Linked DNA regions of Homo sapiens: region 1 is linked to region 2. Evidence: promoter capture Hi-C in 16 types of primary human blood cells and fetal thymus (Javierre and others, 2016). All regions are on one chromosome and are shown on one strand. The core of a region is centred on a gene start or on the middle of the fragment in contact, and the rest is flanking DNA. Distances in the headings are between cores, read along the strand shown. Region 1 holds the start of LIPI (lipase I). Region 2 overlaps NRIP1 (nuclear receptor interacting protein 1).

Region 1 (5,556 bases), core at 1,673-4,172, 850 kb before region 2:
TACAATAAATTAAAATTCCTTGAGGGCATCTGATTTTAGTAAGTCAAGAAAAATTAATCGTGGATCATATCAGAAAAATACTGACACAATTTAGAGAAAAATAATGATTTTGTTGAGGCACTCAGCTCAGAATCCCATGGGTTCTGGAAAGATTACTGCCCTACAAACAGGCTTCTAAGGTTCTGTAACTTCCTATACCCTTATTACTCCAAGGTGGTCTGCGTACCCGTAGGCATCACCTGAGTGCTTAGTAGAATTGCTAATCTTGGGCTTCACCTCCAGCCTATGGATAAGAATTCGCATTTTTATCACATACTACAAGTTCTGTGACTTTACAAAAATAACTTCATTTTATTCTGTTTTTCACTTTCCTCAACTGTGAAATGAGAAAGCTGAATTATTCTACCTTTAACATCTCTTCCAAAGCACACAGGAGTGGGAAACTATGTCCTGTGGTCAAGTCTGGTTGGCAAGCTAAGAATGTTTTTTACATGTTTAAATGGTTGGGAAAAAATCAAAATTATAATATTTGGTGACATGAAAGTTACAACAAATTCAAATGTGAGTGTCCATAAATAAAGTTGTATTCGTGCACGTGCACATGCACATTTACTTGTTTATGCATTATCTACTGCTGCTTTCTTGCTTTGGTAACAAAGCTGAGTAGGTGCAAAAGAGACTGTATGGCCCACAAAACGTAAAATATTTACTATCTGGTCGTTTACAAAAATATTTCCTGGCTGGCTCAGTGGCTCATGCCTGTAATCCCAGCACTTTGGGAGGCTGAGAAGGGCAGATCACTTGAGCCCAAGAGTTGGAGACCAGCCTGGGTAACATAGTGAAACGCTGTCTCTCCAAAAATTACAAAATTAGCCAGGCGTGGTGGTGTGTGCCTGCAGCCCCAGCTACCCTGCAAGCTGAAGCCAGAGGATTTCTTGAACCTAGGAGGTCGAGGCTGTAGTGAGCCATGAACTTCACACTGTACTCCAGCCTGGGTGACAGAATGAGACCCTGTCCAAAGAAAAAAAGAATTTCTGACCCTTGCAATATAATAACAGCAACAACAAAAATTTCAGTGTAAATGGTTACAATAAGTTGGTAACTGTACTAAGAATAAATATGCATATATGCATATAATTTGAATATACAGATACATAGATGTACTGTATATCTGTATAAAGTTTTTTGATCTATCTCTCCTCTCCCATTTTATTCTACTTACAATTTTTAAAAACACCTGACTAAACTGCTTTTCGGAATGTCGTTTCTTTATTAAAGGCAGATTTAATCAATGATTTTCATGTTGACAACCATGAAACATGCCCTCCTTGAGGTATATATCAGAATCTCTAGTGGAGAAGAAAGGAGCATGTGTAATAAATAAAACACACTTGTATGAAATAAACTACTGGAAATCAACAAAATTTTTTAATCAAGTAGAGATTCAAGGAAAATGAGAGAATGCATAGAGTCTACATGGGTTAAAAATGAATTTGAGGATCAGTAAAATTTGTAATTCACTTATTTTCTATTTACTACTGTTAATATCTAAAAGTTCTACTATTGTATTTTAATCATCATTACACAAGAATTAGCAGACAGAAACATACAAAGCAATTATGTTTGAATTTTCCCAACTGAAAATTTAGGCAACTGACTAAATAAATACTAATCAAAACAATAATATCAGAAAGTCTGTCAAATAAGTTTTTAATGTAAACTATGATATTAAAATGATTATAACTGTATTAAAAATGACACATAAGATTAGGGGCCTAGACTTCAAATTTCTCTGGCTTTCAACTGAAGGTGCCACTATTTTACATTATAATAACATAAAATCCCTATCAAGAAACTTAAGAGTAATAATATAAATTATAAACTACATATCAGTATCATTTAGTTTCTATATTTAAATATAAAATTCAAACATTTCCAGAATTTATGGTTATCTCAAATAGCCAATTGAAAACATAAGAAATAATGGTAATTTCTAGTTAATTTTAAAGTTATTCAAGTATGCATTAACAAATTTCAAATAAATTTAAAACATAAAGGAAATAATCTGCTCTCATAAAACCCCTACAGAAAACTATCATCTTGAATTTTAAATTTGCCACTGTTATTACCATAAAGTAGAACTAATTGTTCTACTTATAAGTCGAACAAGTAATTCTACTTTCTCATAAAGTAGAAAACGATACTCTTAATATTGATAAACTTTATTACTGTACGCCAATAAACCAGAATAAAGTTCTACCTTATTACCATAAACCAGCTTTGTTTTTCGTCATACTGAATGAGAGCAAAAGTTGTAGTATCTGGTTATTTTGTTTGTTTTGCAATCGATAATTTATCCAAGTAAGAATTTTCTTCAAAAGTAGAGCTAGTTAAACAAATAAAATTGAAACAAGATATTTAAGGCATAATTTTAAATACCAAATTAATTTCTCCATTACTGAATTTTTTTCTCTTGAGTATTTCTATTTATTCTCTAGTTACATCTTTTTTTAAAAAAAGGTTTTCTAGTTACTAATTATCTGGCAAGGAAATAAAATGCAAAATGTCAACTTATTAAACAAACACATGCACACACACACGTACACACACAGAAGTTTTCTTAATAGTAATGTTTGTTATAATTAGTACCAATAATCTAACATATTTTTATCCCATTATATCATAACATTCTTTATCCCAGAATACAGACCACACTATTTTATATGCAATTTTTAAAGATAAATCAAATTATTAATTAATATCTTACCAGATCTCACCCAGCACATCAAACAAAGAAAAATGTATACTCTCATTTGGAATCTGAGAAAAGCAAAAACAGCACTCAATTCACCAAAAAGGAAATTCCGTAACTCATTGAGGTTTCTCTTTGGTAGGATCATCACAGGCTGGCAGGTTCTTCTGTAAAAGTTCACTGATTTTTGCTCCTCCCTCTTGGTTGAAAAGGTGAGGTAGTTTGTTTTCTCCCACTTTAGCTTGTGGTTGTGGGAAGGATTTTTAAGTCACAGGCTCTGTAATAAGTCACAAACAAACCTTCAGCTACACAAGTTGAATTTAAGGGAATGATAAATCTAATTACATCTTTCTGTATTCCTTTTAACCTCAGGATTTCAGAAGCGGTCAGGAAAATATGCAAATGTGATGTTAGAAAATGCTAGAAATGGAAAGAGTCAGAAAAAGTTGTGGTTTATATTCACTTTGACTACAAACTAAGATATCTTTATATACCATAAATCAATAATGAAAGCCATATCCATTAAGCTCTTTCAAGTATAAAAGATGAGCTTTTCATATTTATGTTATTTTACATCCCCAAAGCAGGGGCTATTTTAACATTCAAAATTTTGGCTCATCACTTGAGGCTAAAAGGTGAAAATTATAAAAAAAAAAGTATTTAATATGATGACCATTTTAAAATTAGCATACATTTTCTTTTTACATGTTTACTTAATTATCTTCTTTTCTTAGCAATGGACTTTAGTAAGCAAGAAAAATTGGGAGTTGTTCTAAGTACATAAATTGAAAGTTTAAAAATTAATTCATTTTTAAAAAATTCAAGTTTCTCTAAAGTTCCAAAAATACAGTAAGAACAGAAGTGTTTTTTGTATGTTATAAATCTGCAGAAACTAATCTGAGGTCTGGGGAAGTATTTGAGAAAATTCACAAACAAAATGAAGTATTAGTTTAAAAAAATCACAAACATTTAACTGCTGAGGAAGTTCCATCATTATTTTGAACTGTCTGATCTCTGGGTGTTTTACATGAGATTTCCATTTTTTAAAAAATACCACCACTACAATTTGTTTGAAGACCAAAAATAATCTAGGTCCTTCCACAGCACTTAGCTGTAAGAACTGCACCTCTCTAACAAAGATATAAATAAGCCACATCATTTCAGAATATGGGAAGAAAGATAATGTGTCATACATCCTAGAACAAATTTTTCCTAACAAATTTTACTTAATAAATTAAAATACAAATCTTTCCTCCTTCACTTATAATTTCCTTTTCTCTTTGTGCTTTCAATGTGGCATTATAATATGACTCTTGCACATTTACTTTCATCTTTATGAGTTCATACTGAAAAATACTGGCATATCAGGCAGTATAATATAGAGTTTCAAAATTAAAAATCATGCTTCTTCATTATCATGTATTTTGCCTACTGCCAATATGAGAAAGATGAGGTTATTAATGTTCATTGCATTAAATAGGAAAATATTGGGGGATGACAAAGTTACAAAATGCCAATAGTTTAGTAAGACAATCTATTTGAGCACTTGTTTAGTCCTCCTTGGATATAAAAAATGATTGTAAGTAGCTTACATACACACTTACAATGTAAACATTAACTCAAAGGGGATGTTCATGATGATGATGTGATGATGATGATGAAGATTTAAAATTTATTGAGCCCTATGTATCAGGCGTTCTTCAAGCACTTTACAAGTGAGTTAATTAGTGTTTGAGATGGAAAATCATTGTTTATCACAATATATTTTGTCACAACCTTTTATTAATTTGTCAATGTGTCAAAATGTTTAACAATCTTACCCTTTGACTCAGCAATTAAGCAACAAAGATACTTCCTACAGAAATCCAAGACACTTTCCTACAGACACATCCAAGGTCCTTTTATGTGGCAAATGGCCTACATGTGCACAAATATATGAGCAAAGACATTCATCTCACCATTCCAATAACAGTCAAAAAATGAAAGCAATATAAAATCTAACAATGAGAGATTAGTCTAATTAGGTATCTACTGTGGATTAAAACTAATGATACAGATTGATCAGTATTTATTGGTGTAAAAGGCCTTCATTACACCTTTTTCATTACAAAAAGTTTTAGAGGGCAGAGGGCAAGCTAAAAAACAGTATTATATAGCATGCTTTATTTTCCTAAAGTGTGATATATATAAATATATATATATATTTTCCTAAAGTGTGATATATATATATTTCAAAGTCTGGAAGGTTTTCCTCCAAAATAGTTATCTCTGCATGATAAATTTGTCAGTAATTTTTACTTTATTTCCTTAAATTTTAACAATATTTATTTATAATAAACATCTAATACACATAAAACAATTGAAAAACTGTATTTACTTGACAAAAATATGGTTCAGAAAAAATCAGAATAAAGACAAAATAAGTGTTTAAAAAAGTGAAGACAAAAATGAGTTCAATTTAAAAAAGCATCCAATAAAATCCCTTAATAGTAGTTGGCCAACCTCCTTTCCTTCCTTCCTTCCTTCCTTCCTTCCTTCCTTCCTTCCTTCCTTCTGTTTCAGTTGTTCATTCACTTATGCAACTTTTATTAAGTACCTATTGATTTCCAGGCACAGACTTTGTTGTTGGGGATACAAAGTAAAGACATTAATTTATTTAATCTGTATTCTTTCAATAGCTATTTATTATACACCTACAGGTGTGTCAAAGATTGTCTTAGGTACTGAAATATATTTACTCTATACTAGTTCCCAGTGAGAAGGACTTGACAGAAGTGTACCTAGGGAACTATGGAAGCACACAA
Region 2 (5,189 bases), core at 1,589-4,088:
AAAATAAGGTACTAGAACAAAAGTGATGCAGCCAGCCAATTCTCGTTTCATGTCTCAAGACCCAGTTCTTATTATTATAGATCCCTTTGTGGGGTTAGCTTGGATTTTACTGCGGGATCCATCACCAAAGGTTATTAACTATTCCTTAACACCTGGTACACAAACCCCTCTTTCTGAGACTGCTTTGACAAAAATAAACAAAAAAGTGTGAAATAAATCAAGATTTGACTGACCATCCTAGGTCTACCCAACTGCTAGCTGAATGACTTTCAAAACGTCTTTAAATTCTTAAGGACTCAATTTCTTCCTCCGTAAAATGCAGATAGTAACTGTTTTGGGCATTTTAACTTAACAGCAATAACAAAAACTACAGGAAGATAAGTAATTATTGACCCCATTGTATCACATGGATCCCCTGGCAATTAAAAAAAAAGATGAATGAGATATTAAGAAATAAAAAGGAAAACAGAGTAAAGACAAAACAGAAATAAAGAAGGAAACCCAAAAGGAAAGAAAATGGCACATAAGCACTAAATGGTAGCATTTTATCATTATTTTATTTATAGTCTACACTAACTGTGTGCTCTTCCATACAAAAGATGCATCTAAAAACTAACTTGTTTGATAAATGGGGGGAGGACAAGGTGCCTCTAAGATAGGTGTGCTTAAATCCAGAGCAGCCGTAGCTTTTATCAAATTCTCTTCCAACCTGAAAAATCTAACGATTCTATGAAATAACTTCAATTTGTGAAAGCCCAAGCAAAAGAAATTCAAAGTTAAAAAAAAAAAAAAAAGAAAATGTGACTTTGACTCAGGTCAGTCAAGTATTACCAGGATAGATAAAAGTAGATTTTTAGCAATACAGTTAACAATGGGTCTTGCCACAATAATAGCAAACATCCAGATATTGGAAAGGAATCAGATGGTAAATTTAAAAAAGACTGTTTTCAATCCTTATATTTGGCTTCACATAGATTCAGTGTATTTTAATTCATTTTTTTTTAAAAAGCATGGATCAGTTAAGGAAATAATATAAGTTCATTCTGATCTTTAGGAAGACATTCTTCCCCCCATATTGTTCACTTTGACAATTTCTCTTTTTTCTTATTTGGCCAAAATATAACGTATTCTCTAAACAAAACACAGATGTTTCCTTTGCAGCTTTTATACAAATCTCTTGCTTTTCCAACATGATTTGGCAACTCAAAATCCAAAGCACCCTAGAAAATATTATGTTTACACGTCTTATTATTCATCTTTGTGTCTCCAATATAGTTTCAATTTGACTATACCTTTCAGTGTATAGGGAACCACTCAGCTTGAATCTTTTAGGTTCAAAAATTCCATAAATTTTAAATGAGGCAAGTAAAAGGAGGTGGAGAAGCTCATAACTCCATTTCTTATGGCTTTAACAATAAAAGAACGTACCTGGTATGTACTTAAAAATGTACTATGTGCCACAAAGCTCCCCCACTCAACAATCTCCCTCCTGACACAGTCTACCCTCAAAATAAAGTCAACTACTCCTCATCTCTCTGCTTCCACTTCCTTCCAATTCACAAATACATTGTTAATTTCCTCTTTGCATTTCAGAGAGCAGTTTATCAGCACAGGATAGTCTTTAACAAAATTGTTGTGAGTGAAGATAGGGTAATTAAAAAAAAAATCATGTTAAGAACTGTTAATAGTCAAGAGTTGTAACTTTTCAACCAGGAAGAGCTATGGTTCTGAATTTGCTACAACTGCTCCTTGAAGTGGACAAACATAACTAGCCTTGGGAACACTCAGTTTAAGACCATGACAAGCTATTTCAATGAATTATATAAAGAAACATAGTTGCTTTCACTGCCTCAAATAACACCGCAGTAATTCTGTGATACACTTCAGAAGAGTTAGCACTGGAGGGAAAAGAGCCTGTGCGGCAGCCCTTGGTGACTACATTTCCCTCCAGCGCAATGCAGGTAGCAGGACATCAGCGCTTTGAGAACTAGCATAAGCTGCTGCAGAATCATCGACTGGCAACAATGTGCCTTCCCAGAGAGCCTGGTCTTGGAGAATCCAGGCTATGAGGCTTGCAAATGCTGCATGAGTTTTATGGCTACCAGGTTGGGAGCAAGGTTTTTTAACGGCTTCCTGAATGTCAGATGGCAACTGGTTTTTTCTTCAAACAATGGCATATTCTTTAAGAAAATCAAATTATCAATGAAATTTGCCATGTGACCACAGGCAAGTTAACTATTCTTGCATTTTTCAGACTAGGTTTCCTTATCTCTAAACTAGAGAAAATGATACCTACATGTCACAGGGGAACTGGAAGGATTAAAAGACAAAATGTGTGTAAAGCTTCCAGCACAATGTCTGGCACAAAACGGTTGCCCCAAAAAGTTCAATACTCTTCCTTTCCCTGCTCCCCCTCCCAACAAAACAGGAAAAGGCAACAGCCAAGTAACTAAACAACTTCTTAATATTCCAAGTTTCTACCCAATCATCTCTTCTTCTTTTAAAACCACAGGCTTGAAATCTTTACTGTTTACTGTCAACAACGGCATATACTGCTGTACAGTCAGAATTTTAGAATTTAGAAATCAAATATAACCCCCTTATTCAACAGATGCTGCCGGGGGAGATAAAAGGGCTTTCCTTTTATCTGTATCATCTTGATTTAGTAGCAGAACCTAAACTCGAAAAATAAACGTGGAATAACAGGAATACTATTTTTTAACATGTTTTTCAAAAATCAAACCTGAGCCTACATAACCCATTGTGCAAACAGTCCCTTTAGGAGAAAAACTGCAACTGTGATTAATTTCTCTCAAGAATATTTATTTCCCATTTGGAGAGTTTCACATGTTTCCAAACATATTTTCTTGATGTCCTCCATGTCATTGTGTATTCTCTCCTTCCCTTAATTTGTTTCTTTTCCAGTGTATAAATCTATTGCTCTATTATAGATTATTATAATATAAACTCATAAATTCAGGAATTTAAAAAAAATCTTTAAAAGCATGCTTCTCAGAAATCATTACACTCTGTTAAACACTTGCTATCTCTCAACTTCTAGATAGATTCCTCAAGAGAGAAGTCCTTTTTTCATTCTGAACTTCTAATTCTCAAATTTTGATTGTGTCCTGTTAGTTACCAAACACACCATTATACTACTACTCTCATTTCAATATTGTACATAAACGATTCCCCATCTTACTAATGAAATGCTTTTTTAAAGCAGTAACATATTTAACATGTGCACATGTTATGAAGAGTATAGGCAAACTCAACTATTAAAAACATGTAACTATAAGGAAAGCCATCTTAGACACTATATGTGACTACAGCTAAGCTTTTCTCTTAAGTATCTAAAGCAAATCACCAGACTTTTACATAGTACCCTCACATAGCTAGATAAGAAAGTAAAAGTAAAATAATGAAAGCAGACTCTAAACAGCAGAAGCTCCAAACTCCTTAGTTTCTCTGTTGTGCTCAATCCTTTAGCAAATTACAGGCCTGAAAACAAGGAGTAGCTCTATCACTTAACAAGTGACTAAGGAATGACTTTGTTAATTAGAAGTCCAAGGGTGAGAGGCTCCTTTCCACCAAAGCTCTGAATAAACATCAACATCAGGTCAACCAGAGTTGTCTTGGTCCCAGGAGTAGCTTAAGCGGATGACTCAAATTCCCAGCAGAATTCTAGTTTAATATTTATTGGAACTCCGAGCTTAGTCACACAGTGACTTGGAATTTAAGACACATGGGGTCTCTTCTTTCCATCCTTAAAGATATTTTTGCTAAGTGACACAAAGTTAAAGAGGCAAGATGGGTTTTAATTTAGAGTTTTTATTCCCTGAGGTGTAAGAAATTAAAATTTTATTTTCTGGGGAGAGTGAACCATACTAGCTCTGAATTTCAAACACAACTATTAACCCTGTCAGATAATTCTATTATCAAGTTTTACAAAACTGTTTACTATTATTATTTTTTTTTGCTACCCCAGCCCTATGTATTGAAAGTGGAAAGAAGGAAGGGAGGGAAGGAGGGAAGGAGAGAGGGAGAATGGATGAATGGATGTATGTCACAATCACCTTTCTAGCCAAAACTGCAACATATGCTGGAGTTCTTGAAATTATTTCAACCAAAAAAAGAATCACAGGACTCATAATTTGTTTAGCAGGTAATTATTTGCCCCATTATCTTCAAGAACAATCTATCTTAAAACTGTGTATAGCTTTTTAAGAAATCTTAATACTAAGAGGATCCTTTTTTTCATAACCCCAAAGAGTGTTTTCTTCCTCTATTTTTGAATTGCCAGCCTTCTCAATTCTTTAAATCTGATTCACATTATACTACTTTTAGAGTTCTAGGCTAAATGTTTATCCATAGCATGATTCAAGGTATTAATTTCAACAAAATACTAATATAATGATAAAATGTATCACATTTATTTTCAACTCTTTCCTATTCTTCTGATTTAAGAACTTAAAGAAAAATATTTTATGTTTCGGGTGCATTTTGATAAGCTAAAATACCACAACTTTTGTAATTCTTCATTTGTAATATTTGCAAGATAGTGTAGGGATCAATTTGAATTTCAAGGTTCATGATATAGAGTATGTACCATAACAGTGAGAAAAGTTAGTATAAATTCCTACTCATCTCAGTTTCTATATTTATTGCAACAAATTAAAACTGCATTTCATAACTCGTAGTAAAACAAAAGGAAAGTTCTGTTTTAAATAAACTCCAACCTTCAGAATCCTATACATTCAGTATCCATCAACCTGAACACTAAATTTCAAGAAAAAACAACAGATGGGCATCCATATAATAGTTTGCAAAGAAACCCTGATAAGACTTCAGGAGTTTCTGTGGTCTCTATTTTCCCCCTACCATGAATCATAGGTAATGTGCTTAAATAAAGCATTATTTCTGCAGTTATTTACATGTTTATCTTTATCAGAGATCCTATAAAAGAATTATCCAGTTCACCACCCAAACTTTAGCACTCAGAACACGGTTTTCCCTGTTGATGAAGACCCTTGTAAAATTCCAGATCTTAAAAGATTAAAGAAAATGTGATCTAATATTAATTCATTTTCCTCCAAAGTATAACTCCTGATTCCATGCTGGTACCCAATTTTGATCCTCTACTTTAAAGATATCTCAGAGACATTCAAAACAAAGTGTGAACATGCACA

What was found. Contacts are between HindIII fragments. The CHiCAGO score rates a contact against its expected background, and 5 or more counts as called.
Region 1: a contact is called between the fragment with the promoter of LIPI here and a fragment that was not itself captured in region 2, in 2 of 17 cell types (total CD4 T cells and naive CD8 T cells). The highest score is 5.9, in total CD4 T cells.

Annotation. Positions count from the first base shown.
Region 1 is chr21:14,208,033-14,213,588 of GRCh38, forward strand. LIPI (lipase I) reads right to left here and starts at 2,923. Exons shown (of 10, transcript NM_001302998.2): 1 at 2,768-2,923. The coding sequence starts at 2,813. The HindIII fragment of the contact is 13,443 bases long and covers 1-5,556 here.
Region 2 is chr21:15,055,514-15,060,702 of GRCh38, forward strand. All of the region lies in intron 1 of NRIP1 (nuclear receptor interacting protein 1), which reads right to left. Among named protein-coding and RNA genes, the nearest start is that of NRIP1, 6.9 kb to the right of the region's middle. RefSeq lists enhancers at 1,685-1,734, 1,955-2,004, 3,380-3,429. The HindIII fragment of the contact is 994 bases long and covers 2,342-3,335 here.